Linked DNA regions of Homo sapiens: all the other regions are linked to region 2. The links are contacts of gene promoters, found by promoter capture Hi-C in human tissues and cell types (Jung and others, 2019). All regions are on one chromosome and are shown on one strand. Each heading gives the region's core, a stretch centred on a gene start or on the middle of the fragment in contact. The rest is flanking DNA. Distances are from core to core; before and after follow the strand shown. Region 1 has its middle 54 kb from the start of CHD6. Region 2 holds the start of MYBL2 (MYB proto-oncogene like 2). Region 3 holds the start of LOC124904912 (a long non-coding RNA gene). Region 4 overlaps YWHAB (tyrosine 3-monooxygenase/tryptophan 5-monooxygenase activation protein beta).

Region 1 (3,146 bases), core at 568-3,067, 2.0 Mb after region 2:
CCGGGCGCAGTGGCTCACGCCTGTAATCCCAGCACTTTGAGAGGCTGAGGCGGGGAGATCACGAGGTCAGGAGATCGAGACCATGCTGGCTAACACGGTGAAAACCCGTCTCTACTAAAAATACAAAAAAATTAGCCGGGCGGGAGGCGGAGCTTGCAGTGAGCAGAGATGGCGTCACTGCACTCCAGCCTGGGCGACAGAGCAAGACTCCGTCTCAAAAAAGAAAAAAAAAAGTGAAGGTTTAATAGGCAAAAGAAAGAGACAGGAAAATAGCTCTCTCTTCTGCAAGAGAGAGAGGCGCCCAAGCGGAACTTCTGGCCTGCGGCGGAGTGCACAGGGTTTCATAGGCAGGCTTGAGGAAGCGGTGTCTGATTTAGAAAGGGCCCTAAGGTTGGTTGGACCAAGTGTGATGTTTATATCGCATGTGGGGAAGCCGGCCACCCCACCCTAATCTTCTTTATGCAAATGGAGTCTTTGTCTGCCCGGGGCCATGTTGTCTGCTCCCGACTGCACACGTGGTTGGCAAGCAAAAGGGAAGATGGAGTCATCATTTTGAACATACCTGGTCCCCAGGTAGCCCCTTTCCTATTGCCACAATGGCCAGCATTCACCCATGCAAGCTTCTAGCCTGCCTTTCTATGTCTGCAGCTTGATTTTACTGGCTGCTCTTTGTTAGAAAAGAAAATGATTTGGAGGCTGCTTTTCATTAAAAGGAAAAGCTTACCGAGGACTTCCTTACCCTTACTATCTGCCTAAATAATTCCTTTTTAACTGGTCCATCACACTCATCCCCATCTTCAGGGATATTTCAATAGGGATACTTCAGTAAAAAATCTTCTAGCTTCTTTTCACTGGGTACCACCCCCCTTTTTAGGTTTAAATTTTAACTTTCTCTGCTCTTCTAAGTAAATTACCACTGACTTAATTGATCACCTTCCAAAATTTTCTTGACATTCATGATCTATTTCTATATCCTCTCTAAAACTCTTTGTCCTTATACATTTATGGTTTTATTTGTTATCATTTCTCCACTGTCATTTTGAGGCTTTGAGAGAAAGAAGATATAAAGGCATATGTTTTTAATGTCGCTACCCATGAGGCAGAGATGTTAGAAGGTGGGCAACTACCTGAGGGGAGAAGCATAAGAAACTGCAGGCAGTCTGTGGGCCTCACTCGATGTCTGCAGCAGCCTCTGGTTTTCAGGGGCCTCCATACCACTGGCCGACTGCCTGACACAGTCAATATTCAGTTATGTGGCAAGTCAAGAGGAATTGTCTGCATGTGTGTTCTGACCAGTGACACTTTCACAAAAAGCAGCTAAGGAAGGTGCTGTTGAACTGGGGAAAGAGAATCCAGCTCAGAGCAAGCAAAAGTCTATTGGAAAAGCATTGATTGCCAAGATCTGGATAAACCTCTCCCACATCATTCCCTCATTACTGGAGTTAAGGCTGGGGAAGAAGGAGAGGGAGGCAATCTTGAGTGCTATTGAGAAATAGCCCAGCATAGCAGAGTTCACAATAGCAGCCCCAGCTCGGACTCCCGGAGTCAAGGTGGACATGACTCCAGGACCTGAGGTTGAGTTCCTGAAGGAGGAAAACAGCAGATTTCCCATCCCCAGTCAGAGGGATCCCCAAAAGGGCAGGACTTGGTTAATGACTACACCCGCTACCTTGCTTCCAGTGTGGGGCAGAGAGCCCCAAACAGGAGAGCTGTGTCTCAAACAGGATAAGTTGCCTGCTCCCTTGCATCTAGCAAACTCAGGGCAGATAGGGCAGGTTCTGAATGAGGACAGTGTGGTAGCTCCTGTGCACCCAGGGCTCTGTGACGTGGGGTTGGGGCATTTTCTCAGAGATAACCAGAGAAGCCCCCATCTAGAAGGGGAGCTGAGCAACTCCACGTGGAATTTCTGAGGAACGGACCCCTGATTTGATGTGAATGCTCACCCCTTTCTTCTGATGCCCAAGCTGCAGTCATCCTGAGAGATAAGTCATGCCAGACAGGAGTCAGAAAATGGGAGAAGGGCCTGGAGTAGCTCTTGTCCTCCTGAGTAAGCAAGCCAGCTCCAGTATAGCTGTTGCTTTTTTTTTTTTTTAGAGACAGGTCTCTCTCTTTTCCAGGCTGGAGTGCAGTAGCACTATCGTAGCTCAATGCAGCCTCCACCTCCTGGACTCAAGCAATCCTCCTGCCACAGCCTCCCAAGTAGCTAGGACCACAGGTGCTCACCACAACACCAGGATAATTTATTTTTTTTTTCTACTTTTTGTAGAGATGGGCTCTCCCTATGTTGCTCAGGCTTGTCTTGAACTCCTCGCATCAAGCAATCCTCCCACCTCAGCCCCACAGAGTGCTGGGATTACAGATGTGCGCCACCTCACCTGACCAAGCTGCTTTTGTTTTCTACAGAGTGGCAGAACCCACATCAGTGAGGAAATTGTTCACACAACTGTCTTTCCACTCATGAAGTTGAGTAAGGGAGGGAAGAAGGAAAGACTTACGGCAGACACTGTTGGTGCCTCGCCCATAGCCCCTTTAGATCCCTGGACCATTTACTGTGTCCACCAGCTTCCCATGCGCCTTCACACCCAACAGCCTGCACCTGCATCTCTTGGTGAAGAGCCTGGAAATTAACATACCCCTGGGACAGCCCTTAACAAGTGACTGACAAACATACGAATACAATCCTCCAGCTCTTGCTCCCTGGTGGGGGTAACTGGAAGGTGTCTGCTGAGTTCCCAGGAGAGACTGAGCCAAAGCAGCCCTCCCCGGACTCTGCCTGCTGCCGTTCCTTTGCCTGGCCTTCTTTCTCTCCTGGTCCCACTTTCCCGCCCACTCCCAACTGGTTTTTTCTAGGAACACTTCTTAAATAAATAATTTTTATAGGAATCCTCTTCTCAGAGTCTGCTTCCAAAAACTCAACCTAAGACAGCCTCCTATTTCAGAGTCCTTGCTGGTTCATTGCTACTAAAAAATTGAAAAACCAGGTAGCCCTTTGTTTATCAGTCACGTTAAGGATGCTGTGAGTGTAACAAGGTAGACTCCGAGGTGAGGAAAGGATGGAGACTTCAACTGCTTCTTTAAATTCAAGGCAGAGAACTGGGCCTCTGAAGGGAACCTGGAGTGGTAAGGAGAGGAGGGAGCTGGGAGTG
Region 2 (3,082 bases), core at 1-2,500:
CCCGACGTGGTGACACGTGCCTGAAGTCCCAGCTACTCGGGAAGCTGAGGCAGGAGAATCGCTTGAACCTGGGAGGCGGAGGTTGCAGTGAGCCAAGATCGCGCCACTGCACTCCAGCCTGGGCATCAGAGCGAGACTCCTTCTCAAAAAAAAAAAAAAAAAAAAAAAAGAGGGAACGAAGGTTATCTGAGCTGCAGCGATCCAGGCAGGGAAGAGGTCAGGACCCCACTGTCCTGTCTCCCAGGCAGGCTGAAAAGCTTGGAGCTCAGGCCCCAGGCGCACAGGTGTAAGACAGGGATCTGGAGCCACAGACCTGGCTCCGGGCTCAGCTCTGCCACTTAAGTCTCTGGGGAAATAAGTAAAATGGAGACCGCAGTTCCTGCCTTTGCCCCAGGGACTCTCTCTCTCCCCCGCACCTTCAACCCCAGCTGCCCAAAACTCCTCGTGGGAACAGGAAGAGAGGTCTCAAACCGAACCAAGCTGGGGCGCGGAACCCAGGTGGGAGAGACAAAAGAGCCCCCAACTCAGCACCCTTCTCAGTCCAGGGGAGAGGGCTTGGGGGACTCTGTGCTCCCCGGAATGTTAAGGAGCAAAGCCCACCCACCAAGTTGACCCAAAACTAGGCTGCAACAAGTGCCTCCCAGGCTCGGTCTCCCACTGGCTGGGACTTGAAGACTCCCTCTCGCTCCCAGGGGTCGCCTCCCTCGCCGGCGAAGGCCCTGCCAGCTGACACCGGCCGGCCCACCCCCATCCCGCAATTAGGCGGGAGACAAAATGACATCATGCACGGCTTGGCCCGGGTCCCAAGAGACCCGCCCGTCCCAGCTCCGAGGCCCAACAGGCCTGGGGAGCCGCGAGGGACGCCCAAGAGCCCCCCAGCTTTACGCGCGCCCCTGCCTCAGAGGGCCCAGGACGCAGCATTTCCGCGGAAACACCCCACCCCCAACACACACACACACCCCAGCTTGGTGGGAGCCTGGGGAGGGTCGGGGGTATCTGGGTGGGGGAGGGGTGAGTTAAAGGGAGGGGGAGGGGCCCAAGCCCTCCCGGCTCGTCTCACCAGCGCGTCCGCCGAGACATCCCCCCGGCCCGGACCGCGCCGCGCTCGCCCGCCCGCCGGCAGAGCCCGGAGCGGGAGCCGGGCCGGGGTCAGGACCCGGGCTGCTCCGGCCGCTCCGGGCCCCGGGCCGCGCTCGAAGGCGTCAGCGTGTCAGCAGGTCCCGCGCTCCTCGCTCGCAGGAACTGCAGTCGCCGCCGGCGCGGGTTGAAGCACTTTTCTATCTCCCGCCAAGCGCGTCGGCGCCGCCCAGTCCTGGCGCGCGGGCGCCGGGGGAGGGGCCTGAGTGAGGGGCGGAGCCAGGGGGCGGGGCGGGGCGGGGCCTGCGGGGCGGCACCTGCCCAGACCCTCCAGGGCCGGCTGCAGGACAGGGGCGGCGGCCGCTACTTCGGAGTTGTGGAGCGGGCCGGGATGTGACCGAGGCCTGGCTCACGTGTCAGTCCGGGGCGGCCCAGGAGTATCCCACATAGCGAAGACCGAGGAAGGGGAGCGAGGCGCGAGCATGGGAGAGCCAGCCAGGGAAAGCGCCAGGGCGGAATCCCCCACGCTAGTCCAAGCCACTACTGGGTCCCTAGAGCCGCACCCTAAAGCGGCTCCTCACCCTACCTGTGCCTCTCCCTGCTTCCTCTCCTGCCTCCAAGAGACCCTCCTTAATAGACTTTATTTTTTGTTGTTCATTTTTCTTAGAGGCAGGGTCTTGCTCTGTCGCCCAGGCTGGAGTGCAGTTTCGCGATCATAGCTCACTGCAACCTCCACCTCCTAGGCTCAAGCGATCCTCCTACCTCAACTCACGGGTAGCTAAGACCAGGCACTCGCCACTACACCCGGCTGATTTTTTTTTTTTTTTTTTTTGAGACGGTGTCTCGCTTTGTCGCCAGGCTGGAGTGCAGTGGCGCGATCTTGACTCACTGCAACCTCCACCTCCCGGGTTCAAGCGACTCCCCCGCCTCAGCCTCCCAAGTAGCTGGAACTACAGGCGCACACCACCACGCCCGGCAATTTTTTTTTTTTTTTTTTTTTTTTTTTAGTATTTTAGTAGAGACGAGGTTTCACCATGTTGGCCAGGATGGTATAGGTCTCCTGACCTCGTGATCCGCCCGCCTCGGCCTCCCAAAGTGCTGGAATTACAGGAGTGAGCCACTGCGCTTTTTTTTTTTTTTTTAAGAGAAGGGGGTGTCTTGCTATGTTGCTGTTGCCTAGACTGGTCTAGAAACTCCTGGGCTCAAGAGATCCTGCCGCTTTGTCCTCCCAAAGTGCTGGGATTGCAGGCGTGAGCTCTTTCCAGAATTTAAAACCATCCTCCTCTCCCTCAGGGTAAATTCCTTACTCCACAATCACATTTATCTGATCTTCCAGACCACCACCCAGCCCTGGCCAAAAGAAACGGCCTCTTTGCCTTTGCCTGAGCCATTACCCAGGGCAGGAACACTTCCTGCCCCTCCCACGTGGCTGATTCCTATTTAATTTGGGGTCCACTGCCCACAATCTGCCTGTAGACTTCTGCATTTCCCCCTTTGAACTGGGAGCATCCTGAGGTCCAGGTGGCCTCTCAATGCACACCAGTATCTCCAGGGCCCAGTAGAAGACCTGACATAAGAAGCCCCAGGCAAAGGTTTGTTGCATTGAATTGTTTACCTTGGGTTTAAACTCCCAGAGATTAGCCCAGATTTAGTGGCTCATGCCAGTAATCCTAGCAGTTTGGGAGGCCGAGGTGGGAGAACTGATTCAGTCCAAAAGTTTGAGACCAGCCTGGGGATCAGAGTGAGACCCTGTCTTTACAAAAAATTAAGAAATTACCTGGCTGTGGTGGTGAATGCCTGTAATCCCAGCTACTTGGGAAGCAGAGGCAGGAGGATTGCTTGAGCCCAGGAGTTCGAGGGGCTCAAGCCCTTGTCATCCCGCCACTGCACTCCAGCCTGGGCGACAGACAGTGAGACTGTCTTTCCTTGAGATTTAGCAAAGGTTTTCTATATTAGATTGACATTTACCAAGTACCAAGGATCAAGTCACACTGGACTTCCTGGG
Region 3 (3,239 bases), core at 368-2,867, 1.3 Mb before region 2:
CCCCATGGGGTAGCTTAAGACTTTTTCCTGATTAAGTTCTCTGTACTCCCATCACACCCAGCTCAATTATCATTTCCCTGACAAAGTCCTCCCTGGCTTGACCAGGTAAAACTAGTCTCATGTCTTTCATGGGTGTTTTGTGCCCCTACAACTTTTGGTCAATCCATTTATCATACGTTTATCATCTTGTTCCCTCCCTCCCTCCCTTTCTTTTCTTTTTTTTTTTTTCTTTCTTTCTTGGATTTAAATGCTTTTTGTAATAAAATACACACCTATCCATCCATTTATCCACCCAAACCCAAGTAGTTACAGCATGGATTTCTTTGAGGCAGAAGCTAGCTATTTCTTGTTTATCTTTTGTCTGTTATCAAGTTCAGTGCTGGAATGAGTGAATGAGGAAATACTTGGTTCCCTTTGAATGGCAAAAAGCGCAGTGTCCTTCTGTCACATAAGAATGACAAACACGCCAGCCCAGCAGACCAACAAGCCTGAACAGGTTATAGTTATCTCTACTGCCTTAACACAAGGCCCAAAGAGCTCTGAGTTTGAAATGTATCCTAATGCCCTGAGGCACCCATTTTCCAAACTGATCATCTTCCCCACTCTATCTGGGCAGGTTCTTCAGACCCAGAAGAAGAAAGTGTTCTCTACTCCAACCGAGCAGCATGTCACTTGAAGGATGGAAACTGCAGAGACTGCATCAAAGATTGCACTTCGTAAGTGGCCAAGGGTAATTTTGGGATGCCTGAGGGTCTCAGAAGAGGAGGCTGGGTTAATCTGGCTTGTTTCTTCTTTGGAAGGATCCCATCAATTACATCTGGGACAGATATTAAGAAAGTGTCACTGAGTTTCACCAGGTCACTGAGAATGGGAGTCTTTATTTGGTCCTTATGGCCCGTGACTTGCATCTTTGGAGTCTTGGCTCTGCTGCCGAAAAAGGAGTGGGATGGGCAGTTAGAAGCAGGCCGTAAAGTCTTTGTGCAATTTGAAACCTGGGAATAAGGTGGAGTGGCAGACCAGTAACTGGCTTGCCCAGGTGCTTTTCTGGGATGGGAGTATGTGAGGGGAAGGGAGCGAAGGAAAGAAGGAGGAATAGAGGTTAATAGATTGTCTCAGAAGGAGAAAGGAAAAAAATGGTATTCATGAATGACCAGTTTTAGAGGACACTGAACAATGTTTCATATCTCTTTTTCTTCAAGCCAGTCTAATATTCTTTTATCATCATTAAACTCTCACATTTACCTGAAATGTGTTCTCAGATCTGATGTCCTCTGACATTGCTTTAGATTCCTGCCCTGGTGATAGCCAGGAGAGCAGGAGGGGTGTGAGCATACTCACAGAGCCTGTGCTGAATTAATTTGTGCCATGCCTTGTGCCAGATTTCCCTCTTTGAGTGTTCACAACCAATCTGTGGGGTACGGTTACCATGTGTCCCAGGCCAGAACTTGGTTGCTGAGGGTTGGGGCAGTAAAGTGATTTACCTGGGTCACATAGTTAGCAGCAGAGGTGGAATTCAGACACCACCCCATCTGACTCCAAAGCTTGTTTGTTATTCCCACTAGACCACAACTGTAAAAAAACATAGTAGCATGAAAGCCATGAGGCTTTTGTTCTTGATTTTGGGGGAACTGAAACTATGAAAATTGATGCATGTGCACACACATTTAACAAAATTCATGTTTCTCTGCCTTCTTTCTCCTCCTCACTTCAGTCTACGTTGAAAAATCCCTGTTCTGAGGTTTGGCGTTTTTAGCCATGTCTCTCGGCCAGAAATTACTTCCTGTACGCTGAGTGCTCCAGATAACCCTGCCTGGAAGAAACTGTAGGGAAACCCTGGTGGCTCAGCAGCCAGCCAGTTGACATTTTTGCCTCCTATTCTAGAGCACTGGCCTTGGTTCCCTTCAGCATTAAGCCCCTGCTGCGGCGAGCATCTGCTTATGAGGCTCTGGAGAAGTACCCTATGGCCTATGTTGACTATAAGACTGTGCTGCAGATTGATGATAATGTGACGTCAGCCGTAGAAGGCATCAACAGGTGAGCTCCATTCCCAGCAGGTGGTCTCCACGGCAACTCCCTGTCCTTCTTGATTGGCTGCGGGCCATTGCCTTGTCTGTCTTCTGAGGGGATCCCTTTGGCTACACTTAAAAAACTCCCGATGGGCATGTAGGGGAAGCTGAGAAAGGAAAATCTGCTTTTTTATTTAGCAGGTTTTCAGGGAGTCAATTACTAAGATTGATTGATTGATATTTGCCTACATGTGCCTCACAGTATCTATGTACACAGTAATATTTATTGTACACTGTTTAAGGTGTTGTGCCCGGTTCAGTGGGGGATACCAAAATGAGAAAGAGATACAGACCCCACTTACCTTCAAAGCGCTAACGCTAATTAGAAGAATAAGACACAAGCCCAAGCAGCTATGACAAGCCTAAAAGGATATGGTTTGTGGACATGGTTCAGTATATTGCACTGTGACCAATCCAAGAGGTTCCCCAGGTGCAATTCCTTTCTGGTCTCTGAGCAGTTATTGGCTTTTATCTCATGGATATTGTCATTTGTATAACTGATCATGTTTCCCCTCTGCGTGTGCGGCTAGAAAGCCAAACACTGCACTAATAGCAAACCCTTAACAGGGACTTCATGGTATGTATTTAGTGCTTTATTTCTGGCTTGACTTGTCTGCCAGCATTCTTTGTTTTCTCTTTGCCTCCTTTTTAACTTATCTGATTCCACAAAATCTACCAATTATGTGACAGACTTTGCTCTAGGACCTGGGCTGATGACTGAGACATACCTCTTCCTGCCGTCATAGAGGTCCCGGTCTCAAGGAAGACACCAGTCAGTAATAGGCAAGCACAATACAACATGATAAGCGCCATGGTAGGAGGCAGCACAGGGGGCTCTGAGGCCAGAAAGGAGCCACCTAGCTAGCTGAGAGGGAGAGGGGGAGGCCAGAGAGAGCTTTTCAGAGGAGGTGAGCTAAGAATGAGAGATATGGGGTAGGGGGTTAGCCAGAAGACAGAGCAGCGTGTGCAAAGGTGAGCAAGTGTGACAGATCACAGGAATTGTAAGAAGTCGGTTTCACATGGTGCTGCAGGCAGGAGCTCAGCTTGGGACAGGTTGGTGAGGCCAAGTCACACAAGACCCAGGGTTCAGGGCTTGGACTTAATCCTGAGCAAGTCAGCCTTTATGAAAAGGTCTTTAGCAGTGGAGCAACATGAGCAGATTTGTATTTTAGA
Region 4 (3,133 bases), core at 634-3,133, 1.2 Mb before region 2:
CATCTGAGCTTCTAAAGAGAAAGTAGGTGATTTTTCTACATTTCCACATTATAACTTACCTGAATCTGTTTTCTCAGTGTTAAAAAGAGACATTAATAGCTATCAAATAAGATAATGAACATAAAATGCCCATATAGTGCTGGTTAGAGTAAAGGCTCATAAGCCATTCTTATTTTTTATTCTTAAGCTACCTCACAAAAATGTAACACATATAATCCAATGTGTGTTGAAATAACTAACAAAATGAAAAACTACCAAATTTCTAAGAACTCTTTGGATTATTCATTGAGAGGAATTTAAAAGAAAGCAGTGTAGTCCTCCCCTCAGAGAGCTTAAACTCTAGTGGTAGAAACACAAGAAAAGAGCACATGTATATCTATTACACATCAATTAAAAAAAAAAACAGCACACGTTTAAGGGTTACAATGCCTCTCCTTAGAAAGCCAACCAGACAGAACTAGAGGAAATAGGTTTAAAGGTAGCTAGGTCGTGACTTAAAAAGAGATGTTATTAATAAAGTGCATGTATGTTTTTCTAGATGAGATAAAAATCAAAGGCCAAAGCAGATAAAGAAATGAGAATAAGGAAGAAAACTGACAAGAAAATCTGAAAAATCTAGGCTCGAATGTTTCAATGGGGTAAGGAACTGATCACATATTCTGAACAGCATTCACAGATGTACCATTCCAGATAGAGCATCCACAGCACTGTACAGCAGAAGTTTTAGTTCTGGAGTCTCTCTGCTGAAGAAAAATCAGATGCCAAGCTACTGCAGAAGGGACTGAGAAAGTCAGTGGGACCAGGTGGTTAGTGGGTGTTACCCAGAAAAAGTTAAACACTCCTGGCTCTCAGAGAAAACTACTCACTAAAAAACACCCACTATAAAACTGTCTGTGTGCCATTCTACATATAAAATTTAGAGTCCTGTAATAAATTTAATTCCATTCAAACATTTGCAGGTTCTTTGTTAGGAAACAAAACACAGCATATCTGTAATACAAAGTCATTAGCACTAAGTCCAGTGAACACTGAATTTGGAGAGAAACTGCATTTCTATTATTTCAAAATCCCTTCCCTCTTTCACATCAGCTGTTGCATATCATTGCTAATTATGTCCAATTAGCCATGATTAAACTTACTGAGGGTGTTAAGTGACAGGCGCAAGGTTACACATGTGACTTAATGGTAGATATGACAATAAATTGACTTCTTGGCTTAAGTAATCAATCCAAAAGACACTATGTTAATTCTGATCCATAAAGACAGCCCAATTGGTTGACCTTATGAATAATTTCTACAGTTTGGGGCCCACTGACATAATGAAGCCTATCAGTCTGATTTACCAGTACCGCACACCAAGTCCACAGGCTATGTGACCTCTGTGAATTTGTTTTCTCATCCATAATACAGGCAAATCTGGGCTGGGCGTGGTGGCTCACGCCTGTAATCCCAGCACTCTGGGAGGCCGAGGAGGGTGATCACTTGAGGTCAGGAGTTCAAGACCAGCCTGGCCAACATGGTGAAACCCCGTCTCTACTAAATATATAAAAAAATTAGCCGGGTATAGTGGCAGGCGCCTGTAATCCCAGCTAATTGGGAGGCTGAGGCAGCCTGAAGGCAGAGGCTGCAGTGAGCTGAGATCACGCCACTGCACTCCAGCCTAGGCGACAGAGCAAGACTCTGTGAAGAAAAAAAAAAACATAGGCAAATCTACTTACTAGGGTTCCTGTAAGGAGTAAACCTGTTTATGATATAAAACAGTAAGCACTCAAATAAATGGCAACCACAGTACATTCCACACAAAACTTAAAAAACCAATGGTCAGCCAGTGAAGGGAAACTTACTATGTACCTCATTTATTTTACACGTACTCTGCTTTCTTTAAAGACTTTTAAAAGAAAGGCACATAACAATTTCCCTATGCTTATTTCTAAAATGGCCCTTATCACAGTTTACTGCAATGCAAGTGTCTCTGCTGGCTCCCACACCGGATTGTGAGCTTAAAGTAGGAATCCAGCCAGGCGTGGTGGCTCACGCCTGTAATCCCAGCACTTTGGGAGGCCGAGGCAGGTGGATCGCAAGGTCAGGAGTTCAAGACCAGCCTGGCCAAGATGGCGAAACCCTGTCTCTACTAAAAATACAAAAATTAGCTGGGCGCAGTGGCAGGCGCCTGTAATCCCAGCTACTCAGGAGGCTGAGGCAGGAGAATTGCTTGAACCCGGGCTTCAGAGGTTGCAGTGAGCCAAGATCGTGCCACTGCACTCCAGCCTGGGTGACAGAGTGAGACTCCATCTCACAAAAAAAAAAAAAAAAAAAAAAAAAAGTAGGAATCCAGACTTGTATCTTTGGACACCCAATGTGGAGTACAAGGCCTAGCACACTGAGTGACTGCTTGATCAACTGATGCATTCTTAAAAAGTGAAAAAGCAATTATTTCCTACGTGGACAGAGGAAGGTAGCACACATCTGACCTATAAAATACAGACTGTTTTTATTGTCTTAGACTACTTTTTGAAAAAAGCCAGCCAGCTCTCATCAGGAGCAACACTATACATTTTGACTAATATTTTTCAGCTACCAATCATTGTATTTATAGATTCAAACTGACTTTCAACAAGCCTTTGGATTACTTTCTGTCCATCTCCTCCATTCAGAAGTCCAATCAGTTCGCTATACAAAAAGTTCACTATACAGAAACCCAAACCAGCTAACTCGTTTAGTAAATAACAAAAATATCCATCCATCATTTATGGCCTGCAAAGCACTCAGGGATTCCTAGAAACGCATTTGATCCTAAGTATCCTATGAGGCAGGTGACATTGTCCCGTTTTATAAATGCAAAGAGTTAACTCATTCAGGGTCACACAGCTATATATGGCAGATCTGGGATCTAAACCAACATTAATTTTAAAATTAATGCTCTTTCCTTTATGTAACCCTATCTCCTAAAGATCAATTATGAACTCCAATGCTCACTTAAGGAAAAGAGAGAATTGTCAACTTTTAAAAGAACTATACAAGGTTGTTACAGTGAAATTTTAAAACTGGCCTATTAAGCTAATGTTATCTAGCTTTAAAAATAAAAACAAAATCAAGGAGTTAAAAACAGCATAAAAACATGCCAAAGACTTAC

What was found. The method cuts DNA at HindIII sites, captures the fragments that hold promoters and counts their contacts. A contact is called where the count stands out against the background at its distance.
Region 1: a contact is called between a fragment that was not itself captured here and the fragment with the promoter of MYBL2 in region 2, in 1 of the 25 tissues and cell types used here (dorsolateral prefrontal cortex).
Region 3: a contact is called between a fragment that was not itself captured here and the fragment with the promoter of MYBL2 in region 2, in 1 of the 25 tissues and cell types used here (sigmoid colon).
Region 4: a fragment that was not itself captured here is called in contact with the fragment with the promoter of MYBL2 in region 2 in 1 of the 25 tissues and cell types used here (spleen).

The regions. Positions count from the first base shown.
Region 1 is chr20:41,670,894-41,674,039 of GRCh38, reverse strand. No RefSeq gene overlaps it. Among named protein-coding and RNA genes, the nearest start is that of CHD6, 54 kb to the right of the region's middle. RefSeq lists an enhancer at 41-180. The HindIII fragment of the contact is 3,117 bases long and covers 259-3,146 here.
Region 2 is chr20:43,665,282-43,668,363 of GRCh38, reverse strand. It overlaps MYBL2 (MYB proto-oncogene like 2), which reads right to left and starts at 1,250. Exons shown (of 14, transcript NM_002466.4): 1 at 1,061-1,250. The coding sequence starts at 1,080. RefSeq lists enhancers at 345-394, 1,161-1,455 and silencers at 1,045-1,424, 1,161-1,455. The HindIII fragment of the contact is 5,433 bases long and covers 1-3,082 here.
Region 3 is chr20:44,953,863-44,957,101 of GRCh38, reverse strand. TOMM34 (translocase of outer mitochondrial membrane 34) reads left to right here. Exons shown (of 7, transcript NM_006809.5): 2 at 617-716; 3 at 1,882-2,034. It overlaps LOC124904912 (a long non-coding RNA gene), which reads right to left and starts at 1,886. Exons shown (of 2, transcript XR_007067599.1): 1 at 1,482-1,886. The HindIII fragment of the contact is 7,243 bases long and covers 1-3,239 here.
Region 4 is chr20:44,889,691-44,892,823 of GRCh38, reverse strand. All of the region lies in intron 1 of YWHAB (tyrosine 3-monooxygenase/tryptophan 5-monooxygenase activation protein beta), which reads right to left. Among named protein-coding and RNA genes, the nearest start is that of YWHAB, 5.6 kb to the right of the region's middle. The HindIII fragment of the contact is 5,673 bases long and covers 1-3,133 here.